Regions from separate parts of the Homo sapiens genome. Here region 2 is linked to region 1. The links are contacts of gene promoters, found by promoter capture Hi-C in human tissues and cell types (Jung and others, 2019). All regions are on one chromosome and are shown on one strand. Each heading gives the region's core, a stretch centred on a gene start or on the middle of the fragment in contact. The rest is flanking DNA. Distances are from core to core; before and after follow the strand shown. Region 1 holds the start of FAXC (failed axon connections homolog, metaxin like GST domain containing). Region 2 overlaps FAXC (failed axon connections homolog, metaxin like GST domain containing).

Evidence for each region. The method cuts DNA at HindIII sites, captures the fragments that hold promoters and counts their contacts. A contact is called where the count stands out against the background at its distance.
Region 2: a contact is called between a fragment that was not itself captured here and the fragment with the promoter of FAXC in region 1, in 2 of the 25 tissues and cell types used here (adrenal gland and pancreas).

Annotation. Positions count from the first base shown.
Region 1 is chr6:99,348,193-99,351,190 of GRCh38, forward strand. It overlaps FAXC (failed axon connections homolog, metaxin like GST domain containing), which reads right to left and starts at 1,482. Exons shown (of 6, transcript NM_032511.4): 1 at 915-1,482. The coding sequence starts at 1,180. RefSeq lists an enhancer at 1-320 and silencers at 1,512-1,571, 1,642-1,691, 1,752-1,831. The HindIII fragment of the contact is 6,681 bases long and covers 1-2,998 here.
Region 2 is chr6:99,297,309-99,300,306 of GRCh38, forward strand. All of the region lies in intron 4 of FAXC (failed axon connections homolog, metaxin like GST domain containing), which reads right to left. Among named protein-coding and RNA genes, the nearest start is that of FAXC, 51 kb to the right of the region's middle. The HindIII fragment of the contact is 6,995 bases long and covers 1-2,998 here.

The sequences.
Region 1 (2,998 bases), core at 232-2,731:
GCAAAGAGACATTCTGAGCTATTGAAAACTGGGCTTCTGGTAATCTTCCAGTGACGGAAGGCTCAAATGCATGGAAATTTTAACCATTAATTGATGTATCAATTAGCCAAACGACTGTCTCAGTGCCCTGTGGTATTACTCTACCCAAACAAAAATCTCGTCCCGGCTGGATGTACCAACAGCAGGGGCCTCCATTTTCTGGTATTTCCAACTCAATCTTGTAAACATTCTGCGGCAGCGGATGCAACTGTTTACGGCACTGGGCGACTCCGTGTTGTGCCCAACACACCCATGTGCTAGCCTGTCCTACTGCTCACACAACAATGACATCTAAGCCTGAAGATGGTGCTTGGCGTTCAATACCAGATAAGCAGAGAACCAGGTTAAGGCTGCATCAAAGCTGCCCACCACTACACTTGGTCATGCATCTTTAACAGGGACCCGCAGGTTTCTGGAGCTTTTGCAATTTTTCAGTCTTTTGATGTTGACATTTAGGGAAGAACTAACCTTTAGGTAAAAGATAAGGTTAGCAGTTAATATTCCAGCATTATTACTTATAAACAAGGCATTTCATAAAAGTGTAACCTATTTCTGCAGGGCCCAATTCTATTGTTGCAAACACACTGCACTTAGATCCTCCTAAGGCCATTTCTTAATAGATAACGACAAGTGACCCAGAGCATTTTGGGAGACAAATGTTTTTCCCTCCCAGCACCGGTTTAATTCTCCTTTCAACTCTAAACTGCCCCTCACGGCCAGGTGACCACAAATGCCTTTAGGGAAAGGTAATTGCAGGGCGCTTGGGCATCTGGGCAGCTTGACCGAGGGGCTGGCACGGGCCCCTCTCGCGCCAGCCCTGCCCTAGCCAGGTGCCCCTCTCTGCGCCCCTGTGCGGGGCCCTCTCTCCGGCTCACCTAATGACCAGGAGTTCGTGGAGCAGATACGCAGCTGCGGCCAGCAAAGCTCCCCCGGTCAAGTAAAGGGTTTTCTTCCACCAGGGATCGGAGCCCAGCCCTGCCATGATCCCACCGTAATCCTGCAAAGGGAAAGCGATGATGTCCCCATAAAAGGAGAAGGGCTCCTCGGACCCGGCCCACCAGCCGAAGAAGGAGATGCTCTGGTTCCAGCTCAGATCCACCACGCACGGCCTGGACGAAGCAAAGCCAACCCCCCAGTGCATGCTGCGCGGCTGGCTCCGGGCGCCCCTCCCAGGGCCCGCGCCGCCCGCATGGGAAGGGGCCGGCGCGGCCCGGCGCGGGCTCAGAGGCGCGCGGAGGGCGCGGGCGGCGCGGGCGGCGGCGACTGAGGAGGCGGCGGCGACTGAGGAGGCGGCGGCAGAGGAGGAGGAGGAGGAAGGGCACTGGCCGCGGACGGCGGGCCTGGCCGGCGGGGCCCCAGAGCCCTGGGCGGCAGCAGCGGCCGCCGGCTCCCCCCGCAGCTGCCTCTCCGCCCCGCTCTTTGTGTCGGCGCCTGGAGAAGGCCGCGTGATGTCATTGCTCCCCGGGGCAGGGAAACAGAGGCGGGATAAAGTCACCTACCCCGCGCCCTGCCCCCTCCCCGCATCTCCGCGGTCCGGCCGCCTCCGCCGGGGCCGGATCTGCAGGGCTGAGGCGCGCCGGGCAGGCTCCGCGCCTCCGGGCGGCACGCCCAAAAACCGCTCGCCGCGCGCGGGCAAGGGCGGCGGAGGTGCCTGGAAATGCGGCCCCACCGCGAGGAAGCTGCAGTCGGGGCCCGGATCCCGGTCCTCCCCTACCCCGGCCGGCCCTCCGCCTGCGCTCCAGCCCCTCCCGCGGGCCCCAGAGTAGGGAACGCGCAGGACTCACCTGGGGCGGCGCGGAGCTGCGGGCAGGAGACGCCACCAGGCGGGGGCTGGGAGCGTGGGCCAGGATTAAAGTCGGGAATCAGATTGTTCTGGCCATCAGGAAAGCGCTGCGTATTTGCATAATGTATAAAAACACTCTTATTACATTACACAATTACCTCGGGCTTGACCAGGTGTTCGCAGAGACGAGATGTCTGGTTTGGCAAATAACAAAATACTCTACCTAGAGAGATTTCTCTGACAAACCCAGTTCAAGTCTTTCCTCTTTGAAGTCACTATCAGGGAACTCGCTGATACAGGGTTTCGGTTGGGGGACGGGGGTCCCTCTTTTGTTTTAGAAAATCTGTCTAACAACTGTGTGTGTGTTCAGTGTATTTTTTTCCTTTAACTTCATTTATTAAAGTTCATAAGTACAAAGAATAGAAGCTTGTAATATATGCACAGATTTTAACAAGAGCATGGATAGTTTTAAATTGTTTGGAAGAACTGAAAAAGGATTCGGGCCGTGGAGGTTCATCACTCTCAAGGTGGAAGGATGGGTAAAAGAAACCTCCAGGCTCTTGCCTATGGAGCAGAGATTGAGGCGCAAAAGGACTCCCCCTTTTTTTCCTCTCCTGACACACCCGCCCCTTAGAACAGGCAAGGAGTGTGGTCGTCTTGTTAATAAATAATAAATATGGACGTGTCGCCTCAACGAGACGGGGGGAGGGGCTAGTCAGCTGATGCCTAGGCACCAGCATGTGAGACTCCCCAAACACTCCTGGGAAAATGTGACCTCCCAGGAAGAAGTAATGTGTGTGGTTCTAAGTGAGGCTCCCATAAGTAGGTTGCAAGGAGTGAAACCCAACGGCCTCCTGGGGTGACTGAGGTGGTCACCAGCCGGTCTTTCAAGGAGAGAGGCCAGAAGGCTGCCTGGCCTTGTCGGCAAGAAGCAGAGTAGTTAAGTCTGGGACCAAAGCTGCAGTGCTCTGGAAGAGGGAACAAGGAGGGCTGGCACCAGGGATTCTCCATGCTCCTTCTGTGCCCTTCCCACAGAGCACTCAGTCTTTGCTCTCAGTGAACACTGAGCCAATATTTAAAGAATATAAGTTTGATATTTGGGATCACATTATTTGCATATCTAGGTCTAGACATGGGGATGGGCATAAATTACCTTAAGTGGAAGAATATGGAAGG
Region 2 (2,998 bases), core at 235-2,734, 51 kb before region 1:
GGATGGCTGGATGAGCAGAGCAGGGAGAACAATAGAGGACAAAGACACACAGTTGTCCAGGGAGAATGGAAGCAATATTGAGTCTGAGAAGAATGGCCAGAATCCAGGCCTGAAGACTTAGGCCAAATTGAGGGAACAAGCAAGCTGCAAAGCTGAAGCGAGCTGAACTTGATGAGCAAGGGAACCAAGAGAATAGGAGGGGACAAGCAGAGAGCCACATGCCCCTGAAAGTTCCAGTGGGGGAGGGGGTGCCATACGCAGCATAACTGAGGAAGTGCTCACAATCCTAGGCTGTTTGCTCACTGCCTGGCTCTGAGCCGCCCCCTTGGGGAGGATGTATGAGAGCTGACAGTGTGTGATGCTCTCCAGACCTGGGCAGGACAAACCGAGCTCTACCTCCTATGAATGGTCTACTTCAGTCAAACATGCAGGTGCTCATCCTATCCTCCCTGCCCCAAATAACTCCGGCTATCTAAGCCTGACCTTTCCATTAGGACTCAGACCAAGTCCTACCTCCTCCACTGCATGAAGGCTTCCCACACGGTCCCAGTCTACTGGAACCTCTCATTGTCCACGCCTCTGTTAAATCCCAGAGGGGCGAATTGCTTAGAGCGAGGCTACTGAGAGAGTAGTCTAGCAGCACCAGCAGCACCTGAGTGTTAGTTAGACATTCTTAGATCCCATCACTGAATCAGAATACTTGGGAATGGGACTAGAGAACCTGTGTTTAACAAGCTTTCGGGTCAGGGTTTCTCAAACTTTAGAGGTATTAAAATCACCAGGATAGTCTGCAGTTCTTGGACCAGACTGTGAATAGCACTGTTCCAGGTGATTCTTGTGCACACTGAAGCTTAAGAAGTACTGGGCTAGAGTATATCATTGGTCTTAAACTTGAGCATGTAGTATAATCACCTGGAAGGCTTTTTTTTTTTTTTCTTTTTTAGTGGAGATGAGACCTCGTTATGTTCCCCAGGATGGTTTTGAACTCCTGGGCTCAAGTGATCCTGCCGCCTTGTCCTCCAAAGTGCTGGGATTCCAGGCATACAGCACCACACCTGGCCTTGAAAGCTTTTTAAAAACACTAACTCAAGTCCCTGATCCCAGGAGTTTCTGATTCAGTAGGTACAGAGTGAGATCCAAGAATCTGCATTTCTAACAAGAGCCCAAGTAATGCTGATACTGCTGCTCCAGGGAGCACACTTTGAGAACCACTGGTCTAGCTCACACATTAGGTAAATCACACAGCCATCTTGCAGTCTTACCTACGTGTAGGTCCTATCTCCTCAAATAATTTTTAAGCACCTTGAGGGCAAGTAAACTTCTATTTTACTTTTCTGTCCATCTGGTACCTATCACATAGGAACCATCAATTAAGGTTATGATAGCCTTAATTATGTTTGATCTCTGTCCTTTCTCAAAATGGAGAGCTATAATAGTGATTAAAAAGTATAATAATGTGAAAGCATTTTGCAAGCTAGGAGGTGCTATTCTAACATAAGGAATTCTTTTATACTCATTTCCAACAATCAAAACAAGTAATGTGGACAGAACCAGTTCAACCTCTCTCCAAGTGTAGGAATCCCTTCTCACACTTTCCTACCAGATACTCCCCATCCCCAACCCCAACCCTGCTGAAACTTCTCTCCCATAATTTACTGGGTAGGGCAGACTATTCTGTGCTTAGATGGTTCCTTATACTGAAACAAAATGGTCTCCTTAGAACTTCCACCATGCATCTCAGTTCTTTCCTCTGGAATTCACAAAAAAAAATTATGGCCATATTTATTCTACCACAGCACCCATTCCTAGTCTCCACTAACATACTTCTAAGGAAAAACTGATCACCTGTTTTCATATATATCATTATGAGATGGTGGACAGAAAGTTTATTTCAGACCACTGGAAACACTACAGAAATGAACTTCTGAATCTCATCTCCTTCCTCCCTAATTCTTTTCCCACTTCCCACTGGTCACTGTCAGCTCCACTTCCACAATTTAGCTAAATTTCCAAACTCTATAAGTGACAAAAGAGACAAGACTGGCTGTGCTATAAAATATAAGTTCAAGGGAGAAACTAAAGAGAATAATCAAAAGATTTTCCAAGACTCATTTCCCTATGAGTCTAAGACATAAAGTACAATTGTGTGTTTTACATAGGGCTCCCTATACCTGAGCACTCATGTGATTTATAAGCAGGCAATTATAGTAAAATCAATGTGGACATTATTCATACTTCTAATTGTCCCTCTCTCACCTTTCATTAACTAGAAATTGAAGAAAAATTAAGAAACAAAGATTTTGAGTGCTTTTCCCAATGAAACAGGAGGTCACGGTAATCTCACTATCCAAGCATCAAAGAGCACACACTTAAATGCACACACTTAAAACTTTTTTTCTGCAAGTGAATCTCCCAGAGGGCAAAGCTACAGGAAAAATAAAATCTACTCCCTATTCTCTTACACTCCTGATCAGACCCCACTTTGTCAGAAATAATATGTAAGACAAGCCACTTCCTTCACAAAGCCCTTGTTTTCATACTACAAGCATACTCTAAAATCACTATATAGATTGTGATTAGCTCACGATCGCCAATTAGCTCACATTCTGGGAAAAAATAAAGGTGGGTGGAGAAAATACCAGAAGAAGCTCCTTAATTTAATCCCTCTTCAGATTTCATTCTAGAAAGCAACTAGATACTCCTTTAATTTTTAATAAGATTTTCTGAAAGAACACACAAAAATTTATCTCTTTCCGGCTCATATGAACTATCTCGACACCTTCCTCACTGGCCACCAATACCACCATCACTCTGTCTCTTTGCTGATGTCCCAGCTCTTATAATTCCTTATGGATGAAAGCAGGAAGGACATAAATCCCCGACTCTAAGCAAAGGGTTGTGTATCCTCCTCTGTACTTTGGTCCTCTATTAATGTGTCTGAACACCTTCTGAACTCTGGACACTCAGAGAATCCATGGGCATACTTTATAATTTTAGG